2 separate regions of the Homo sapiens genome follow, and region 1 is linked to region 2. The links are contacts of gene promoters, found by promoter capture Hi-C in human tissues and cell types (Jung and others, 2019). All regions are on one chromosome and are shown on one strand. The core of a region is centred on a gene start or on the middle of the fragment in contact, and the rest is flanking DNA. Distances in the headings are between cores, read along the strand shown.

Region 1 (5,033 bases), core at 974-3,473, 150 kb after region 2:
CACGTGTTAAAAAATGAAGGCCTTGAGATATGGCCACATTGGTTCACTCCTGTAATATCAGCGCTTTGGGAGGCTGAGGTGGGAGAATCACTTGAGGCCAGGAGTTCGAGGCCAGCCTGGGCATCAGTGACATTCTACCTCCACCAAAAAAACCCAAAAAATTAAAATTAGGCGGGCATGGTGGCACAGGCCTGTAGTCCCAGCTATTTGGGAAGCGAAGCTGGGGCGGGAGGATCCCTTGAGCCCAGGAATTCAAAACTGCAGTGAGCTATGATTGCGCCACTGCACTCCAGCCTGGGCCACATTGTGAGACACTGTCTATTAAAAAAGTAACAAATAGATAAAAAAGCCTGGGTTTTTTCTCCCTAAACAATGGATATCACGTTCAAGCAAGTGAACCCTCTATAAACCATGACTTTATATATTATTTTCAGGGATGACTATGCCAGTGAGCGAGATTAAGGGGTAGAAACTCTTCCTTTTCAGTCCTGTTTTTCGTCACAACTACTTTTCCTGGAAAGTTATTCAGTCTAACAGCTAGACCCCCCTTCCCCCACCGCCCCCGTCGGAGAGGCCTGGGATTTACCAGACACTCCTAAAGCTAGATTAGCTAGACTCTGGGGGCGATAGGGGGAAATAGGCATTTTTCTGTCGTGTGTAGTGGACGCCTTATAAAAAGCCCACATTTGGCCCGGCGCAGTGGCTTACGCCTGTAATCCCAGCACTTTGGGAGGTCGAGGCCGGCGGATCACCTGAGATCAGGTCAGTCTGGCCAACATCGTGAAACCCCGTCTCTACTAAAAATACAAAATTAGCAGAGCGTGGTGGTGGGCGCCTGTAATCCCAGCTACTCGGGAGGCTGAGGCAGAAGAATCACTTGAACCCGGGAGGCGGAGGTTGCAGTGAGCCGAGATCATGCCATTGCACTCCAGCCTGGGCAAAAAGAGCAAAACTCCATCTCAGAAAAAAAATATAAAAATAAATTAAAAAATAAAAATAAAAAGCCCACATTTGCCAGGCACCGACTAGATCCAGCACCGTCCTCATTTAAAACAGTTGGACTTGGGGGGTTGTGCACTGGAATGACTAACCTGGAAGCCACGCCACGACTCAGGGGCGGAGGGGACTCGAATCCGCGCGATCAGATGCCGCCGCAGGTGCTTAAGACCTGCAGCCTACAGAGCAAGCCTATCTTATCCCCACTTTAGGAAAAGTTGTCTGGTGTTACTTAAGGTTATGACATTGTGCTCTGTGAAGTCACTTGCGTCCCCGACACCTCCCAACTCAGCTGGGACTGGCCAGTGCCCTGCTCCCTGACCTCGCCGCGGCGGCCAGTAGGAGGTGTCGGCGCCCCAGGAGTCCGCGGCCGAGCCAATGGGAGCCGCGAGAAGGGCCGGGGCGGAGCCTGGACGCGTGATGCCAGGGAACCACTCCCGTGGGATTTGGCCAGAGGCATCTCACTGGCGTCCTGTCGCCCAGGCTGGGGTGCAGTGGCTCGATCTCAGCTCACTGTGACCTCTGCCTCCCGGGTTGAAGCGATTCTTCCGCCTCAGCCTCCCTAGTATCTGAGATTATGGGCGTGCGCCACATGCCCGGCTAATTTTTTTGTATTTTTATTAGAGACGAGGTTTCACCATGTTGGCCAGACTGGTCTTGAACTCCTGGCCTCATGTGATCCACCCACCTCGCCTCCCAAAGTGCTGGGATTACAAGCGTGAGCCACCGCGCCTGGCCTGAAGTGCAGGCTTTTGAATATAGATGCTCAACGAAGATATGGGAGAAAGAAAGCTAGATTAGCACAGGAAAAAGCCACAGTAGATAAGTAGGAGACGGGAAATAAGTCTGGAGAAGAGAAAGGAGAGGGAAAAGCAGAAACGAGTGACTCAGCCTGCCCAGCTTAATAAACTAAGATTCTAGCTACCATGTCACTTGTGCAGATGGCACGGGCTCCCAGGGTTGTCTCTAGAATGATGACACCCCTTCACCAAGCACTGTGGACCTTCTTTAGAATTAAAGAGGGGGCTGGACACAGTGACTGACGCCTGTAATACCAGCACTTTGGGAGGAGGAAGTGGAAGGATTGCTTGAGGCCAGGAGTTTGAGACCAGCCTGGGCAAAATACTGCCTTTGCAAAATTATGACTGAGACAGTGGAAAGAGATCTAACCTGACTCCATCTTGCTTCTAACCTCCAAGCTATCCTTGTTCATTCCTGGGTGGAGGCTGAACTAACTTCGGGAGAAACTTATAGTTTATAGTTTAAAACAAAGATGATAACAGCCCTTTCCCAAAACAAACCTCCTTGCCTGGGGACTAGGCTGCCTTTGTAGGACTAAGAAATTAGCCACAAGATTAGAAATTATGGTTTAGGATTCATGCAGCTGGAGGTTACAAAATCTTGACCCTCCCTAAACTGCTCTTCAGATCAGTGTTTGAGATATTTTGCAGACCCTGCACTTGATGGATCAGCTGGGACCACCCAGATCGATAAACTGGCTCATCTGATCTTGTGACCCCCCCCCCCCCACACCTAAGAACTGACTTAGCGCAAGAAGACAGCTTCCACTCCCTATGATTTCATCTGTGACCTGACCAATTAGCACTCCCGGCTCACTGGTTTCCCCCCACCCACCAAGTTGTCCTTAAAAACTCTGATCCCCAAATACTGGGCAAACTTAATTGAGTCATAATATAACTCTGGTCTCCCGCAGAGCCAGCTCTGCGTGAATTACTCTTTCCCTATTGCAATTCCCCTGTCTTCATAAATCGCCTCTGTCTAGGCAGCAGGTAAGGTGAACCCACTGGGTAGTTATACTGTCTCCCAAAAAAACAGCAGTCAGGCATAGTGACACATGCCTGTAGTCCCAGCCACTCAGGAGGCTGAGGCAGGATGATCACCTGAGCCCAGGAGTTTAAGGCTGCAGTGAGCTATGATCATGCCACTGTACTCCGAGCAACAGAGCCAGACTTTCTTTCTGAAAAGAAGGCTGGGCACGGTGGCTTACACCTGTAATTCCAGCACTTTGGGAGGCCGAGGTGGGCGGATCACCTGAGGCCAGGAGTTCCAGACCAGCCTGGCCAACATGGTGAAACCCTGTCTCTACTAAAAATACAAAAATTAGCCGGGTGCGATGGCACATGCCCATAGTCCCAGCTACTTGGGAGGTGAGGTAGGAGAATCACTTAAACCCAGGAGGTGGAGGCTGCAGTGAGCCGAGATCGCACCACTGTACTCCAGCCTGGGTGACAGACTGAGACTGTCTCAAAAAAAAAAAAAAATGTTATGCCAGAGTCAGATTGGAAAGTAAGTCATGATATATAGGGTTAAATAAAACTCATCTGATGAAAATTTATGGTTTGTAGGGCATGATTCCCCAGACCCCTTAGATAGGAATTTGGGCAAGAAAAAAAATCAGAGCCTAGTCCTCAGAGCCCATGACTATAATGTCTTTAGTGTTTATACTGGGAGGTAGTTTATTATTATATTATGTTATATTATATTATATTATATTATATTATATTATATTATATTATATTATATTATATTAATTTCATTTTATTTTTTAGACGGAGTCTCGCTCTGTTGCCCAGGCTGGAGGGCAGTGGTGCAATCTTGGCTCACTGCAACCTCTGCCTCCTGGGTTCCAGCGATTCTCCTGCCTCAGCCTCCCGAGTAGCTGGGATTACAGGCGCGCACCACCATGCACGTTTGGGAGGCCAAGGCAAGTGGATCACGAGGTCAGGAGATTGAGACCATCCTGGCCAACATGGTGAAACCCCATCTCTACTAAAAATACAAAAAATTAGCCAGGCATGGTGGTTGGTGCCTGTAGTCCCACCTACTTGGGAGGCTGAGGCAGGGGAATCACTTAAACCCAGGAGGCGGAGGTTGCAGTGAGCCAAGATCACGCCATTGCACTCCAGCCTGGCGACAGAGTGAGACTCTGTCTCAAAAAAAAAAGAATCTTGTGTAAATACATTGACTAGAGTCTGAAGTCCCAAGTCTGCCTCTTATAGCCAGATAGTCTTAGTTGTCACTAATTTCCTCATTAATAAAAAGTAGAATAAATGTACTACATGTAAAATTGCCGGTATGACAAATGGGTAACATTTTCCAGATGGAAGCACCTAGAAAAATGTTTTGTACAGTGGAGACCTGGATATGCATTTATGACAAAATAAATGTTGGTTCATTCTTTTTTTGAGATGGAGTTTCGCTCTTGTTGCCCAGGCTGGAGTGCAGTGGTGAGATCTCAGCTCACCGCAACCTCCACCTCCCAGGTTCAAGCGATTCTCCTGCCTCGGCCTCCCTAGTAGCTGGGATTACAGGCATGTGCCACCACGCCCAGCTAATTTTGTACTTTTAGTAGAGACGGGGTTTCTCCACGTTGGTCAGGCAGGTCTCAAACTCCCAACCTCAGGTGATCCACCTGCCTCGGCCTCCCAAAGTGCTGGGATTACAGGCATGAGCCACTGCACCTGGCCATAATGTTGGTTCATTCTAAAAGCACACTCTTGCATGTCCAGAATTTAACATTAAGCAATTACTTATATGTAAATTTTTTTTTTTTGAAAAGGAGTTTCGCTCTTGTCGCCCAGGCTGGAGTGCAATGGTGTGATTTTGGCTCACTGCAACCTCCACCTCCCAGGTTCAAACAATTCTCCTGCCTCAGCCTCCAGAGTAGCTGGGATGACAGGCGCCCGCCACCATGCCCAGCTAATTTTTGTATTTTTAGTAGAGATGGGGTTTCACCACGTTGGCCAGGCTTGTCTCGAACTCCTGACCTTAGGTGATCCACCTACCTCAGCCTCCCAAAGTGCTGTGATTACAGGCATGAGCTATCGCGCCAGGCCACTTATAGGTAATTAAACAAAAAAAATGTACATAGCACATTAGGAAATCATACTGATACAGTAATACAGTCACTAAATTCTGACAGTTTGCTCTGGAAGAGCTTTTGGAGGATATCTTTTCCAATGTCCTCGTTTCTGAAGTGAGGAAACTAAATTCTCAGTCTCATAGTTTCTCTGCGG
Region 2 (5,151 bases), core at 1,485-3,984:
AGGTACAGTCATAATTAAGGTGAAGGCATCAGTGACATGACTTCCCAGGTAAGAAGATACAAAAGGCTGAGCCCAGAGAAGCTTGGTGCTCCTCACTTCTGATGCTTTCTCTGCTGCTATGATGATCAAAAGTCCTCAGCACCTGAGCTGGCCTTTGGGAACCAGGTGGCAAGGACAGCCACACTAACAGGAAAGATGTAACTGCTGCTGTCCCTCTCTGGGTATCCAGCTTTACAAGAAATAGGTAAACTACTTTTCTTTGATAGATAGTATAGTGGTGTTTGGCTGACATTTTACCTTCTAAAATTATTAAGTTATCTTTAGAGTGAACTGCAATTACATTTTTGACAAGCTCTAAAATATATCCTAAACAAACCCCTCCATCTCTACCACCTCTACCCTATCCCCAGTTATCAGCATCTATCAGCAGGGGAGAGATCATATCTTATCTCTTCCCTGCTTAAGATCCTTCGAAGGTGTCCCTTCACATTCATAAGAAAAAATCCAAACTCCTTAAGGTGGCCTACAAATTCCTACATAATCTGGCCTTTGCTTCTCTATCCATTCATATTTCCTGTCGCTTGGACTGGCTACATAATTTGTGGGGCCCAATGCAAAATGAAAATGCAGAGCTCCTTGTTCAAAAACTACTAAGAATTTTAAGAGGGCAATGGCAGAGCATTAAACCAGGCATCAGCCCTTTCCTTTTTTTTAATTTTTAAAATATTTATTTAGATTTTCTTTTTGTTAGTAATTAAATCTTTCTTCTTCTTCTTCTTCTCCTCCTCCTCCTTCTCCTTCCTCTCCTTCCTCTTCCTCTTCTTCTTCTTCCCTCTTCCCTCTCTCCTCCTCCTCGTCCTCCTCCTCCTTGAAACAGTGCAGTGGCACAATCTCAGCTCACTGCAACCTCCACTTTCCATGTTCAAGTGATTCTCATGCCTCAGCCTCCCGAGTAGCTGGGATTACAGGTATGTGTCACCATGCCCAGCTAATTTTTGTATTTTTAGTAGACACTGGGTTTTGCCATGTTGGCCAGGCTGGTCTCAAGTGATCCGCCCGCCTCAGCCTCCCAAAGTGCTGGGATTACAGGTGTAAGCCACCGCACCTGGCTCTTTTTTTGTTTTGTTTTGTTAAGTATAAAACCTCACCTGGAAGCACCAGCCCTTTCTGAGTGTGCGGGCCTGTGCCACTGCGTGGGTTGCACGTCCATTAAGCTGGTCTACCTGCCATCCACTTCCTCAACCCAATGGCATTCTCCTGTTTCTTAGATATGTACCAACCGGTTTTCTGTTTTATCTTAGCATGGCTCACTACTCCTCATTAGGGTCTCTCAGCGAAGGGGGTAGCCTTTTTTTTTTTTTTTTTTTTTTTTGAGACAGAGTCTTGCTCTGCTGCCCAGGCTGGAGTGCAGTGGCCAGATCTCCACTCACTGCAATCTCTTTGGTTCAAGCATTCTCCTGCCTCAGCCTCCCAAGTAGCTGGGATTACTGGCCCACGCCCGGCTAATTTTTGTATTTTTAGTAGAGATGGGGTTTCACCATGTTGGCCAGGCTGGTCTCGGACTCCTGACCTCAGGTGATCCACCCGCCACCACTCCAGCCTGGGCAACAGAGTCTGAGACTCCGTCTCAAAAAAAAAAAAAAAAAAAAAAAAAAAGTCATACTGGCATAGAGTGAACCCCTAATCCAATATGACTGGTATCCTTATAAAAATACTTTTTTTTTGGAGACGGAGTCTCTCTCTGTCGCCCCAGGCTGGAGTGCAGTGGCGCGATCTCGACTCACTGCAACCAAAAGGAGACATTTTGACATGGAGACATATACAGGGAATATGCCCTGTGAACATGAAGATGGCCATATGCAAGCCCAGGAGAGAAGCCTGGAAGAGACCGTTTCCTCACAGCGCTCAGAAGGAAAGAACCCTGCCAACATCTTGCTTTCAGATGCCCCCAGGATTGTCAGACAATAAGATCTGTTATTGACGCCACCGGGTTGGTGATACTTAGGTACAGCAGCCCTAGCAAACGAATACACCCCCATGAGAACTAAGCTCCCTGAGAGCGGTAAGCTGCCTTGTCTTGCTCACAGCTGACAAGAACACGCCTGTACGGTCACTTAGCACCTAGTACTGCCATTTAACCGTTTCACTAGTATGTATGAACCGGAGAGCCTGTCAAGGGAAGAGCTGAATCTTTTATCTTTTGTAACGACTACCCAGTGAAAGAAACCGCGGGTATGCAATAAAAACCTGTTGAATCGATTAAACCATTTCCCTTATTTCCAGATTTTTGCGGAAAGCGCCAGTAGGTGAAATATGTGCGGACTGATGAGTCAAAGCTCTTATTCCCTGGACTGCATTAATACCCACGACGTGCTTTTCGCTCTCCAGACAAAGAGACCGGTACTTGGCAGGTCCCTCAAGTGGGACTCAAAAGACCGAACCGAGCTGCAGCCTTTCGCTAGCACTGGTCCTCGCCCCTTTTGGCATCTTGGTACTTGTAGTTTTGTCCACTCTATCTTTACCCGAAAAGCCAGCGCTGAGACCACAACTCCCATCACCCTGCGAGCACCAGCGCCTTCAGAGCGCATCCTCCGAGGGGCACCAGCGCCATTGACCACCCTGCTGGCCGAAGGGCCCGCCTTCCCGAGGCCAGGCGCTCCCGCGATTGGCCAGCCGCCCCGCCTCTCATCGGAGGGCGCCAGGTGAATGAAAGGGGGGCGTGTCGGTGCGCGGTGCTCCGTGGCTGCGCTGCTGGAACCCGCTGGAAGGTGAGCGCGAAGAAGCGGGTTGGCGCTGCCGCTTTCGTTGGTTTGGGGAGGATTCCTAGCACCCGGGAGGCTGGCTGGAGATTGGGGTTAGCGGGCAGGGTTGCCCCCACTCAGTCATCCTCCTTCGGACCGCTTGGCCCTGGCAACTCCTGGGACCTCCGCCCCGCGAGCCCTTCTAGCGTGGGGAGGGGCAGGCGCGGCCGTGGGGCCCCAGCTTCCCTGTCATTGGGTGTCCTCCGCGTCGTCCAGCCGGGGGTCGCGGCGCCGACTACTTCCACGGTGAATGGTGCCCAGGCGTGGGGGGCTCGGCCACACTGGAGAAGTGCCAGCGGCAGCGATGGCCACTTTGTCCGCGGGAGGCCATGGGAGGGGCTAGGCCTTGGGGTCCCACCCTCGGGGGCCGTGCCCTGTAGCTGGTTCTGGTGGCCTCTCTGCAGGTCGTCTGATGCTGGACGGGGGAGGGTCTGTCTTGCGAGCAGTTTAGATGCAGTTGACCCTGAAATTCTTCGTATGGAAATGGAAACTTCTCCAGTGTCCTTCTCCTCCGATCCATGCCTAAAAGAAAGGAGTGACTTCCCCAACCTGTCGCATCGTGTCCTGGAGGGTTTGAGGAGGCCGGTTAGCATAGTGGTTAAGGATGTCAACCCGGGAGTCAGTCGGATCTCTGTTCTATTACTAACTTGGTGATGTTATCTGCATCTTTGAATCTCAGTTCCTCCTCTGAAAAAGAGGATGTAGTTAGAGTATCTGTCGTACTGGATTATTGTGAGGTGAAAACTAATGTGCTTGTAAAAGCCAGGCATGGTGGCGCGCACCTGTAGTCCCTGCTACTCGGGAAGCTAAGGTTGGGAGGATCTCTTGAGCCCAGGAGTTCCAGGCTGCATTGAGGTAGGATCGTGCACTCCAACCTGGGCAACCGAGCAAGACCGTGCCTTTTAAAAATTTTAATTTAAAAAGTAAAATGAATATGCTTGTACTTTGTACAGTGTTTTATAAGGAATAGTGCTTAATATTTACTAAAATTGAGGAGCAGGTTTTTGTTATTCTCAGGTTGGTGGGACTGGAGGAGTCTTGTCAGAAAGGGTCGGAGGTGGAATTCAAGGCTGCTTTTGGCCTCTGAACAGAGACAGTTGTGTGATCTGGCTAGGACTCCCTCAAGGGTATATGAGAGTTTGTATTGCAGGTAGTTGTGTTGGCATCTGCTGTCTCCTGGAGGACAGGCACTATACTTGGTTCATTTTTCTATTCCTGGCATCTTCCTTGTGTCAGGCATTGTATGTAGCCGGTAACCGTTGAATTGAGTTGGAACCGTGGGATGGTTGGGAGGTTCCCTGCCAGAGTGCGGATAAATGTGCTTCTGAGAGCAGTCTGCCCTAAGAGCTGCTCTTCTGGGATAAGTGGTGATCCTCAGCACTTCCCGGGGCAGCAGAGCACTTCAGGCAAATGGGGGTGATATAAATAAATATTTACACAATATATACCAAGTACAGGATTGGGGAAAATTTTGAAGAAAATACTATACGGATAGACTTTTGCAACGTCAGGAAGTAGAATAAAAATAATTGCAATAGAATAAAAAATAATTTCAGTAAGAAAGCCAAAAGAAATTGGTTTTAGGTGCTATTTCTGGAAAGGAGGCTTTTCCAGTGAAAGACGGAAGTGCCCTGGGAAGAGCCCCTATAGATCAGACCATACTACAAGTTAAGAAGTGTTGTGCGTACTTACATATTTATCTACCTGGCTTACCAACTCCTTACCCCTCTGCCCTGCCTCCTTTTTTTCTTAGTTAACAAAGAAAAAAGCCAAGGCAGAAGGATCACTTGAGTCCAGGAGTTCAAGACCATTGAGACCAGCCAGGGCAACATAGTGAGACCCCATCTCTACAAAAAAATGTTTTCAGAATTAGCTGAGTGTGGTGCTGCATGCCTGTAGTCACAGCTACTTGGGAGGCTGAGGTAGGAGGATTGCTTGAGCCTGGGAGGTCGAGGCGGCAGTGAACTGTGATCATGGACTGCACTCCAGCCTGGGTAACAAAGTAAGACCCCGTCTCAAAAGAAAAGAAAAGCAATACATGCACATAGTAAAACATTCTATCAGAAAGGTTTAAAATGAAAGGCGAAAGTCCCTCCACACACTTGTTTTTTTTTTTTTTTTTGAGATGGAGTCTCGCACTATCGCCCAGGCTGGAGTGCAGTGGCACAATCTCTGCTCACTGCAGCCTCCGCCTCCACCGCCTCCTGGGTTCAAGTGATTCTCCTGCCTCAGCCTCCCGAGTAGCTGGGATTACAGGTGCCCGCCACCATGCCCAGCTAATTTTTTTGTATTTTTAGTAGAGACGGGGTTTCACTACGTTGGCCAGGCTGGTCTCGAACTCCTGACCCCA

Evidence for each region. The method cuts DNA at HindIII sites, captures the fragments that hold promoters and counts their contacts. A contact is called where the count stands out against the background at its distance.
Region 1: a contact is called between a fragment that was not itself captured here and the fragment with the promoter of ZBTB8B in region 2, in 1 of the 25 tissues and cell types used here (aorta).

The regions. Positions count from the first base shown.
Region 1 is chr1:32,610,952-32,615,984 of GRCh38, forward strand. LOC102723870 (a long non-coding RNA gene) reads right to left here and starts at 1,539. Exons shown (of 3, transcript XR_426677.5): 1 at 1,092-1,539. RefSeq lists an enhancer at 1,055-1,556 and a silencer at 1,325-1,434. The HindIII fragment of the contact is 6,500 bases long and covers 1-5,033 here.
Region 2 is chr1:32,462,338-32,467,488 of GRCh38, forward strand. ZBTB8B (zinc finger and BTB domain containing 8B) reads left to right here and starts at 2,735. Exons shown (of 4, transcript NM_001145720.2): 1 at 2,735-2,768. The HindIII fragment of the contact is 24,686 bases long and covers 1-5,151 here.